Linked DNA regions of Homo sapiens: regions 1, 2 and 3 are each linked to region 4. Evidence: promoter capture Hi-C in human tissues and cell types (Jung and others, 2019). All regions are on one chromosome and are shown on one strand. Each heading gives the region's core, a stretch centred on a gene start or on the middle of the fragment in contact. The rest is flanking DNA. Distances are from core to core; before and after follow the strand shown. Region 1 has its middle 30 kb from the start of ARK2C. Region 2 overlaps ARK2N (arkadia (RNF111) N-terminal like PKA signaling regulator 2N). Region 3 overlaps ARK2C (arkadia (RNF111) C-terminal like ring finger ubiquitin ligase 2C). Region 4 holds the start of LOXHD1 (lipoxygenase homology PLAT domains 1).

The links. Contacts are between HindIII fragments. The study calls those that stand out against the background at their distance.
Region 1: a fragment that was not itself captured here is called in contact with the fragment with the promoter of LOXHD1 in region 4 in 1 of the 25 tissues and cell types used here (dorsolateral prefrontal cortex).
Region 2: a contact is called between a fragment that was not itself captured here and the fragment with the promoter of LOXHD1 in region 4, in 1 of the 25 tissues and cell types used here (dorsolateral prefrontal cortex).
Region 3: a fragment that was not itself captured here is called in contact with the fragment with the promoter of LOXHD1 in region 4 in 2 of the 25 tissues and cell types used here (H1 embryonic stem cells and lymphoblastoid cells).

The regions. Positions count from the first base shown.
Region 1 is chr18:46,302,673-46,305,372 of GRCh38, forward strand. No RefSeq gene overlaps it. Among named protein-coding and RNA genes, the nearest start is that of ARK2C, 30 kb to the right of the region's middle. The HindIII fragment of the contact is 8,639 bases long and covers 1-2,700 here.
Region 2 is chr18:46,212,096-46,214,795 of GRCh38, forward strand. The region is part of intron 1 of ARK2N (arkadia (RNF111) N-terminal like PKA signaling regulator 2N); the gene reads left to right. Among named protein-coding and RNA genes, the nearest start is that of ARK2N, 39 kb to the left of the region's middle. The HindIII fragment of the contact is 5,322 bases long and covers 1-2,700 here.
Region 3 is chr18:46,384,874-46,387,573 of GRCh38, forward strand. The region is part of intron 1 of ARK2C (arkadia (RNF111) C-terminal like ring finger ubiquitin ligase 2C); the gene reads left to right. Among named protein-coding and RNA genes, the nearest start is that of ARK2C, 52 kb to the left of the region's middle. RefSeq lists an enhancer at 2,292-2,700. The HindIII fragment of the contact is 5,640 bases long and covers 1-2,700 here.
Region 4 is chr18:46,655,814-46,658,513 of GRCh38, forward strand. It overlaps LOXHD1 (lipoxygenase homology PLAT domains 1), which reads right to left and starts at 1,407. Exons shown (of 41, transcript NM_001384474.1): 1 at 1,091-1,407. The coding sequence starts at 1,220. RefSeq lists enhancers at 1,655-2,604, 2,415-2,464. The HindIII fragment of the contact is 5,571 bases long and covers 1-2,700 here.

The DNA.
Region 1 (2,700 bases), core at 120-2,619, 350 kb before region 4:
ATGTCAAACAAGGCTGCTTTGTGACCGTGACAGACCACGACAGAAATAAGACCCCTCCACACGAGCACAGACAAAAACAAGAATACTAGCTGAACCACAGAAATAAACCAACATCTGCCTCCCCCAGCCGATGGGAGGGGCTACGGCTTCTTTACCCAATACAGCGTTAGCACTGCTTCATTCCTCCGCTTCTAGGTCAGAATCCTAAAGATACTCTAATGTCCTCGATCATAGAATTCTCCTGCTCCCTGACTGCAACCAGTGGAGAGGAAATCCCCACTTCTCCGAACCCTTCCCAAAGTCACCAAAGAAACACAAACCCTGCAACTTCCTTCTAACACAACCCTCCAACCGGGATGCGCCATAGCTCCCCAGGGGTGTGGTCTCCCCCGTCACAGCTGCATCAATAGATGTAGCTCTGGTTGGCTGCAGGTGTCTTTCCAGCGGTCCCTGACTGATGGCATCAGCTGGCTCAAGGGTGCTCATCATGAGAGCAAGTGTCTTTCATACAGCGCACCAAGTCAGGAGCCCTTCCTTCCAGCCTCCAGTCATGTCTCTGCCACCAGCTACATGACCTTGAGCAGGTCCTTAACCTGGGAGTCTCGGCATCTCCGGCTGCAAAATGGAGCAAGACTTGCCTTGCTACCACTCCCGGAAAGGGAGGATGGTGTGAGACACTGCCTGTGAAGGTGGCTAGGAGGAGTCTGACCCTTGCACAGGGTCACCGTGGAATTTGCTTTCAACTTCTGAGAGTGAAAAGAGACATTATTGATAACTACAGTGAGGCACAGGTATAAACCAGGCCTCTCCCCAGCAAAATGAGAGGAAAGGTGACCCGCCTCAGAGGAGCTATGGGAAATGAAGGCAGAGAGGGTGTGAGGTGCCTCTGGGAGTTGATGAGTGTAGTGGGGTGAATGAGGGCCCCCCAGAAGACATGCACATGTCCTAGCCCTCAGAACCTGTGAATGTGACCTTATCTGAAAAAAGGGTCTTTCCAGATGTAATTAAATTAAGCATCTTGAGATGAGTCATCCTGGATTACCTAGGTGGTCCCTAAATCCAATGACAAGTGTCTTTATGGAAACAGAAGAGGAGAGAAAACCCAGGGCACAGAGAAGCCAGGGGAAGATGGAGGCAGGCACTGGAGTGCTGTGGCCACAAGCCAAGGAAGCCTGGAGCCACCACGAGCTGGAAGAGATGGGAAGGATTCTCTCCTAGATCCTTTGGAGGAAGTCCAGTCCTGCTGACATCCTGATTCTGGACTTCTGTCTTCCAGAATTGTGAGAGGATAACTTTTTGTTGTTTTAAACATCAAGTTTGTGGTGATTTGTTACGGCAGCCCTGGAAAACAAACCCAGTGGGCAGGGGGGCCTTTAAAGACACCCTCCCTGGATGCTCTGTCCCTCCCAGGGACTCTCTCTGGAATTGCATTATTCAGTTGCAACAGAGGTCACCCGCTACCTCCCACCTCCTGGCCCGGGTTTCAGCCTTGCCCAGGGAGGAGGTAGGGCTCCAGGCCTGCAAGCATCTCTCCCAGAGTGCTGAGCCCCAGATTCACACCTTGCTCCAGCTGTGGGGAGGGGGCAGCTGTCTAAGCAGCTGAGGATCTGAGGATTGCTCTTGTGTGGCAGAGAAAGAGCCTAATCCACTATGTTTTAGGGGCATCTGGCCAGGCTCTGGCCCAGGACTGGAGAAGCTGTGGGAAGTAGGTCCGCAGGTCTGCCCAGGAGCCAAATGAAAGCAGGGGTCAGGGGAAGGAGCAGCGGAAGGTGGTGAAGTCAGAGGCCTGTAACCTCCCCTTTCTTTCTTTCTTTTTTCTTTTTTTTTTTTTTTTTGAGACAGGATCTCTGTCACCCAGGCTGGAGTGCAGTAGCAAAATCTCAGCCCACTGCAACCTCTGCCTCCTGGGCTCAAGCAATCCTCCCGCCTCAGCCTCCTAAATAACTGGGACTACAGGTGCTTGCCACCATGCCCAGCTAATTTTTGTATTTTTGGTAGAGATAGGGTTTTGCCATGTTGGCTAGGCTGGTCTCGAACTCCTGAACTCAAGCAATCTAACTGCCTTGGCCTCCCAAAGTGTTGGGATTACAGGCGTGAGCCATTGTGCCTGGCCACCTCCCCTATTATTACTTTTAAGAGGATCTAATAAACTGGCTTATGCCTAGACCTGATTACAGCACTTCCTCTCCCCGGGGATGGGGGCAGGAGGCAATGCCGGAAACGATGCCTCAAATTTAGGGTGGAATTTTGGGTATTACACAGTGTTCCTCCCTCCCCTTTCCCCATCATACTCATCATGCTCATCACACTTTTGAACTAAGGTCCAAAATTCCTTCATGGATGCAGATAAGATCTGTCATATCCTGCAGTATCTTTTAATATGAAAATCCCTGAGATAGAAGCACCTGGGGCCCCTGTATGGATTCCCTGATGGAGGCAGAAGGTCCCTGGAAGGGAAAGACAGGAAAAGAGAGAAGGCATCCAAAGGGAAATTCCGTTTTCTCCCGTATTTCAACCTGGGCCATGCCTGGTGCCAAGGCTGCAGGAAAAGTTAGCAATGATGGGAAATGATGGGATTTGCATTTCCATTTCTAGTGGTTTCCTCCTTTCTCCACCCATTTTCCAGCCTTGCTCTTCTAAATTACCTCCTGTTTTCCCCAAAGCTAGAGCTCTGGAGCTGGGCTGCTCAGAGAATGTCAA
Region 2 (2,700 bases), core at 76-2,575, 440 kb before region 4:
TTTTTTCTCCTGTATTTAATTAATTATAGCAAAATTCCACTATAGGAAGAAAGCATAGTAGAATTTATTGACTAAGCTTGACCCAAAGAGTAGTCTAGTGTTATGGCCCCAGAAAAGCACAACTTCTTTTTCTTCAGAAGACTTTTATGTCAGAGTGGATTTTTGAATAGATAATGTTTGTATACATCACAAATTCAAGAGATACAAAACTGCATACCACACTGTCTTCTCCTGTTCCCTTATTCACCTGCTTTCCTTCTCAACTGGTATTACTATTTTCTTAAGTATCTTTCCAGAGTCTATGCATCTACAGATAAACTCATGTAAATATAGTTTTGTTATTTATTTACATAAATGCTATAATGTATCTTTTTTCATTAAAATTGCGTGAGAACTGTTTCTTACCTCTCTATATAAAGTGCTTTCTCATTTTTTTAATGGCCACATTGTATGAACATACCATGATGAGCTAACTTTTGTCCTGTTTGTGGTCAATACTAGTCTTTTGTGATTGATTTGAGCATATTTAAGTGGTTTTGACTGCAATACCGGTTACTAATTTAGGTAGTATAAATTAAATCTCAGTTAACACTCAAATTTAAGGAACTTGAAAGATAATCATTAAATTGAATGATGTGCCATATTGTCATTTTTTTTTAACAGGGAAAAACAATCTAGATTTACCTGTTTTATCCACACAACTTATTTCTTGAAGAAACAAGCGTTGTATGGTCATTTTAACAAATTTACTTTTTAGTCTGATGCTGTATTATGTACTTTGAAAATATCCAGTGCTGCCTTCTTTCACAAATTGAGACTTTTGATGCTTGTCCTATATAGCTGACATTAATTCCATCTGAGTATATTTTCTCAGATATTTTAGCTTTAAGAAGAATTTTTTTTTTTTTTTTTTTTTTTTTTTTGGAGACTAAGTCTCACTCTGTCGCCCAGGCTGGAGTGCAGTGGCGGGACCTCGGCTCACTGCAAGCTCCACCTCCCGGGTTCAAGTGATTCTCCTGCTTCAGCCTCCTAAGTAGCTGAGATTACAGGTGCCTGCCACCACGCCTGGCTAATTTTTGTATTTTTAGTAGAGATGGGCTTTGACCATCTCGGCCAGGCTGGTCTTGAACTCCTGATCTCGTGATCCACCTGCCTCGGCCTCCCAAAGTGCTGGGAATACAAACGTGAGCCACCGTGCCCAGCCTTAAGAAGAATCATTATTCCAGAATATACAATTTGAATCTCCATAATAGAATTAACTCTCATTTTTATTCAGTTAGAAAATCTTTGTCCCCCCCACTGCTAAATTTGACTGGCTTAAAAAAAAGAACTTGGGTTTATTCCTCATACCTGGGGGTATTTTGTATCTGTGAATATTTTATTTCGTGTTTGTATTGACAGCATGCTTTATTTATAACGGTCTCCGTTGGTTTAACTGTTACTCCCTCTGTTGGCTTTCAGAGGTGTTACATTTTTTTGTAATGGTGTCAGAAAAAATATTTATGCTGATTTTCACTTAGCCTCCAACATTAGTATTATAATTGATACAAATATGCTTGTGAAGTAGGCTACACACAAGATTGTTTTATTTATTTTTTATTTATTTTATTTATTTTTTTGAGATGGAGTCTTGCTCTGTCACCCAGGCTGGAACGCAGTGGCGTGATCTTGGCTCACTGCAACCTCCGCCTCCCAGGTTCAAGCAGTTCTTTTGCCTCAGCCTCCCGAGTAGCTGGGACTACAGGCGCTCGCCACCATGCCTGGCCAATTTTTGTATTTTTAGTAGAGACGGGGTTTCACCATGTTGGCCAGACTGGTCTCGAACTTCCAACCTCAGGTGATCCACTTGCCTCCACCTCCTAAAGTGCTGGGATAACAGGTGTGAGCCACCACTCCTGGCCTAGGATTGTTTTAAATTAACAGATGTTTCAGTGGCCATGAATGTTCTGGTTTCCATGAATGTGTTAAGGAAACTTAATCAGAATGCCTGTTTTATCAACAGCTGAGAACAGGGCTATGAAAAACAACAGGCATATAGAATATTTATGTTTGTATTAAGCAAAAAGTGGGCTTGGCATGTTAGATCTGTTTTAAAGGATTTTGCAAATATTTCCTAGTTTTTGTCTGCTATAGATTGAACTATCTAGGTAACTTGATGGAGTGAGATGATGGAGATGCCATATTGCACCTAGCATACCGTATAGAATAATGGTTATGTGTGTCTGTGACCTATGGACATGATAGTTGCTTTCTGTAATGTAACACATACAGGGCAAGGTATTTACTTGTTTTCCATATTTAGCATCCTCTTTAAAAACCACCAGATTTTCAATAGGTTCTTGGAAACTGCGACTTTAAATGGAACAAGATACTGCTGGTCTTTGAATGATGTCCTTTAGTTATAAGGTTAATGAGAAAAATTGGTTTTGTTAAATGTCATTTCACTTAAAGTCTCAGTTTCCAAGAACCTGTTGACAATGTTAAGTAAGGACTTAACTGTATATAGGTCATAAGCTTTTGAGGTTAAATATTATGTCCTGTACCTGTATGGTTAATTGGAGTTGTATCACTCACAGTGGTGGTAGAGTGTTAGGTTCTAAATTTAGCATACAAAGTGTACAATGGGTGTAGAGTATTTTCTCTTAAATCCCTTTATTCATTCATAGAATATACTAGGCTTTCTGGGTTCTGTATTTAGTG
Region 3 (2,700 bases), core at 199-2,698, 270 kb before region 4:
TTAAATATAAAATAGAATAAGAAAATGTCCTGCCTTTTCCCTGGTAGATACAGCCCAGAGCCAGGGCACACACACAGCTGGTTCAGCTCCACTCACTTCTTGATGGTCACCTTTGTGCCCGTAGACAGTATCTCTGTTCCCTCCCCCTCAAAGATTTCCAGAGTGGTGTGCAGGGCTCCCTTTCAGTTGGCAAACCTTTTGACATCTCCATGGGAGATGGTCCAGCCAACTCTGGCGTATATTCTCAGAGATCCTGCTTACCACACTGGTGCCAGCTCTTGTCTGTTGGGTTAGAGAATATGTTTGGTTGGGTGGTGTGATGTCATGGGCCAGGGGAATCTTGTCCTGCCTCACCAATTACAGGGTTGCTTCCTGGGCCTCAAATCTAATTGCACAGAGATGAGAGCTCTCCTGGGAGATGAAAGTGGTGGCTTGTGAGGACAAGTGGGTGTAAATGACTGATAACAGATTGTTTTGTCTGGAAGGAAGGACTTGCATGTGCCTGTGCATGTGTGTGTGAGTGTGCGTGTGCATATGTGTGCAGGGAGGGATTCTGAAGAGGAAGGTGTTGCACAAGGATGTCCAGGTTGAAACCCAGGAGCTTTTCTAGCGTGGCTCTACTGACTCTAGTGGACAGAGAACAGGCTCTGGAGCTCCAAATCCCCCAGATTCTGCTCCTGTCTGCTGATAGGTAGAAGCAGGAACAAAACTTACTTTGAAATGCACAGACAGAAAATCTTAATACAAGCCCCACAGCCCCTGATCTAGAAGTGTCAGCTGTCCCCCTTTGGAGCATGAACTGAGCCCTCACCAGCTCTTCCCAGAGCTTCTGTGCCCCTCCCCAGCCTCTTGCTCCAAGCCTGCACTTTTGGCAGGACCCCCTCGAGGCAGTTAATTAAAAAATCAGTGTTTGCCTTTATATTGGAAAAGAGATTTTTGCCCCCTCTGTAAGTGATAAGTGTTTCAGCTGAGCCTGGTGAGGTATCTGGGGCTGGAAGAGTTGCTTTTACTAATACATGCCAAGAAGACTGTAATGCTGTCTTCATAAAATAAGGGGATGGGGCTAGATGACCTCATGGCGGTGTGTGGTGGTTCTGATGCTCTGGCCCCAAGAACCCCTTGTCTCCGGAAGGGAGTTGCTTCCAACCATCTGGGCCTCTTTCTCAGCTGTTTTGCCAAAAATAAAGTATTGGGGTTCACCCTCAGTTTTGTGAGGCCTTAGAAGCAAATGCCAAGGCCCATCTGTCCAGGGGCCATGTTCTCAGGGAAATGCTGTTAGCTACCTACATGCCAGGGTTTCTCTTCCTCTGGCTGCCTCATTTCTTACACTGGCGAGGGAGCTGAATGAAAGCCTTCTCTGCACATACAAAGATCTGTAGACTGTCCGACACCCTTCTACTCTTTAATCATCAGCATTGTCATCGTTGCCTTCATCTCTGACATTTGTACAAATCTGATGGCTTACCAGGTACCATCAAATATATAGTCATTTCATTTGAGACACAAGCTCCCCTTATGGTGGAGCTGGGGCAGGTGTAAACTTCATTGTTTTATAGGAAGCAGAGGCAGAGGGGTTAATATCAATTTTTTTTTCCCTAAGGCCTGGTAAGGACTGGGGCCAGAACTAGAATCCAGGTCTTTTGCTAAGCTATCTTATGTCTTGACCCCCCATCAATCCATCCATCCATCCATCCATTCACCCACCCATCCACCCATCCATCCATCATTCCATCCGGCAGATAATTATTAAGTGCTCATTTCATTCCAACCATGTAGATAGCTATAGAGTAGTGAACAAAACAGGATCTTTTCCCTGTCCCTGGCAGCTGTCCTTTCAGTGGAGATTCTCTTTCTGGGACATGGTGCTGTCTTTATAGGTAGGAAGAACTGGGGAGCTGGACATGCGGCTCTCAGAGGAACATTTTGTTTTCACTTCTCATCACTTCCTCCTTCCTTCTTCCCACAGCAGACAGGATTTAGGCCATTTTGGGAGTCCCCCACTTTCTGATTTCTAGTACCTTTGGCATCATGGGCAGTGTTTGGGTGGCGGAGGAGCAGCTACTCCTTTTGGCGGGGGACACTGACATTCCTGGGCACTGCTGCGTGCCGCTGCTGAACCAGGCACTTGGCCAACATTCTCTTCTAATTCATTCCTCACACAGTTCTGAGGGGCAGTAGACAGGCTGGGTAAAGAGGCTGAGGAGAGTGCGCCAGGCCAGGGAAGCAGTGATTTTTGGTGGTCTCACAGCAGTGACACTCTGACATAGCTTGTCAACAGAGGGCTACAGTCTGTCCAGCTTAGCAGACAAGTTTCTTCATGGCTTGTTCTCAAACTTCAACGTCCAGCTGAGGCATGCATAAAAAAAGGCAGATAACCAGGCCCCACCTCCAGAGAGTCCCATTCAGCAAGTGGGTGAGGGGGTTGGGGATCTGCATTGAAACAAGCCCCCATCCTCCATGATTCCAGTGCAGAGCTTGGGGAACCACTCTGAAGTAAGGAAAGCAGCTTTTCCTTTGGACAGTGCAGGCCTTTGGGAGTGAATCCAGTACAAAAACAGCATTAGCTCTGAGGACAAGAAATGTGTACAGAACTTGCAATATTCCAGGACTAGGGGAGAAACTTGTCCCAACTTTAGTGCCAAATTCCCCTCCAGGCTGTGCAAAATGTGGAAGTCCCTGTGCTTCCCGGCACCACCTGGG
Region 4 (2,700 bases), core at 157-2,656:
CCGGACACAGCTGGACAAGCTTTGCAGGAAACAATGGAACAATTATGAATTGGATGTAATCAGGGAACTCATGGTGGACTGGAATCAAGGAGGGCTTCATGGAAGAGATGGGATCAGAACTGGGCTTTCAGAGTGAGGACAGGAAGAGGGAGAAAGGGGAAGACAAACAAGGCCATGGGCAGGCACAGAGCACACATTCAATAAATACTTGCTGAATGAATGAATGAGTGAATGCATGGATGACTATGGCGCTTACGGGGACTGGTGAGCCACTTTGGAGTCAGCATTGAGAATTTAAATGGCTTCAGAGACTAGGCAGGCAGCACTGATGAGTAAACCAGACCTAGTATGAGATGACAGGGAGTGGTGGAGACTGTGATAAGCTGGACGTCCACAGCCTATTGGCATTCACAGAAAAAAGGATTTCAAAACGCTGGAAAGGAAAAAAACAACTTAAACTCTGCTGGCCAAAACCAGCTCTAGGGTCACAGTTCACTTCTTTGGTTTACCTGGCAAGGAGTTAGAGCAATTTCAAGCAGGTCTCATGTGGCCCAGGGAAAGATGAGACTAGAAGGACAAGGCCCTGGGGTCCAGAGCACCGGCCGCCTTCGACATATGGGATGGACATCTCCTTGCAAAGCCCCAGGCTCCCTGTCTCCATCAACCACAGTGGGCATAGGATGAGCTGTCAGGCTTCCTCCCCAAGACATCCTTTCATGACCCCAGCAGTTCAGGGCGCTCTGCCTGATGCAGACCACCTACTCGGGGACCAGACTGGAACGTGGCTTTGGGGATGTTCAGGAGCTGGAGAACATGGGGCCATGGGGGCACTGTGGCTCTAGTCTATTCTGTTCCACTGAGAATCGGGGGCTAAAGGCAAGTTGCTCCACCTGTCTGTACAACAGGGACCCCACCATCCCTGCATAATGCCTGCCTTCTTACTCCGAGGGGATATGGAACAGACACATGGGATAATCAGTGAGGAAGGGCTTGCTCCGAAATCTTAGAATGACTCCCCATAGACAGGAACAGACCCCTGCCCACCGCAGCCAGCTGCACCACCCGCCCCCCGCAGGCTGGGACCCCGCACCTCTGGCCTTGTAGTACTCGTGTTCCAGCTCCCCCTCGTCGTCCTCCGAGGCGTAGTTCAGCAGCTCCGCTTCGTACAGGGCCAGGAAGTCGATGTCCTTCTTCCTCCGCCTTTTCTTCTGGGGCATCATTCTGTCGGCTGCCTTCTCCCAGCGCTCGCAGGCTCACTGTGCCGCCTCCTCACACCTGCGGGAACCTGAGACCTCCTCCCTGAGCTCTGGCGCCCACGGCCCTCCTATAGCTCAGGCCTGGGTGGGCCAGAGTGCCCCGTTTTCTTGGCTTCCCCGTGCCCAAGGTGCTGTTCCCTCTGCCTTCTCTGGCTCCTGAGCTGAACCTCAGTGCCTTATCTCTGAACCTCCTGTCCCTGTCCCCTCCCACCACCCTCTGGTGAGCCACCTCCTCCTCCTCTGTACCTGCCCCGGGGCTTCTCTTTGGGCCTCATCACTTATTCATGGCGCTGAGGGCAGGCTGACTTCCTTCCTCTCTCCCCTCCCCACCAGCCCTCTCTCCTCCCTATGGAGAATCAGGTGACACGGAGCCCTTGAAGTCCATTTCCCACCTGGCCTCACAGCCAGGGGGTCACCTGGGATCCCTCCAGGCCACCCCAGGGACAGGTGAGGGCTCCTCACCCAGGAGATCTCCCAAGCCTTACAGCCCACACGGGACCCTCCTGAGGAAGGCGGGGCCCCGGAATCAGCCAGGCTCCCAGGACTCAAAGGCCCCCGTTTCTCTCCATTATTCATGACCTCTGATCGTCTTACGGAGCAGGCGGGGTTCTCGCTGGATCCTTCTCGTTCTCTCTCTCTGCTTCCATCTCATCAAGACTGCGGGCTTCCGGAAGTGGCCTCTGGGCACGAGGAAAGCTAGGGCACCAGAAAACTCTCCCCGCTCCCCCTGCCAGGTGAGCTTTATATGCACTAAAGTTTAAACATCATCGTAGCCGATGCCCTCCCAGGTGAACTCACTAACTAGATCAGCTCACCACCTGGACTCACGGGAGGGCATCAGCAAGCTCCTACCCCAGGGCGCACAGCCCGGGCTGCACACCAGAAGCCCCCAGAGAGGTGTTGAACGCTAATGCGTGGGTCCCATCCCCAAGGATTCTGATTTGCTTGGTTTGGGACGCAGCTTGGGCCCCAGTTTTTAAAGCTCCTGGTGACTTTCATGTGCAGCCATGTTGAGGGTCCCTGAATCGCTTCTCAGGTAACTTAGGTGTGCTAACAGGAGTCCTCTAGAAGCAACACGTGTGATTTTGTCCTCTAAGCCAAAATAGTGACTCTAAAGGGGAATTTCAGGTGGAGAGGAAGAGAGGATTTGGAGCGGACGCCTGAGGAGCAGTCGGCACTCACAGGCCTCCCCGGCAGCCTGGGGCAGCTTTGGTCCTGCCCTGCTCTTTGGAGCCATCCAAATCTTCCACTAGGGGGAGGCATCTCTAACCCCGAACGTTCCTACCCAGGAAAGATCAACCTCCCCTCTTCCCCTATTCAGCTGAGGGGCCGCCCTTGAAGCAGCTCAAAGTCCTCTGAGGACCAGGAGTGAAGTTTAATGGTGGGTGGCGCGCGCCCCCTTCTGGCAATATGTGGTTTACACACCTGGATTCTTCAGGAAGAG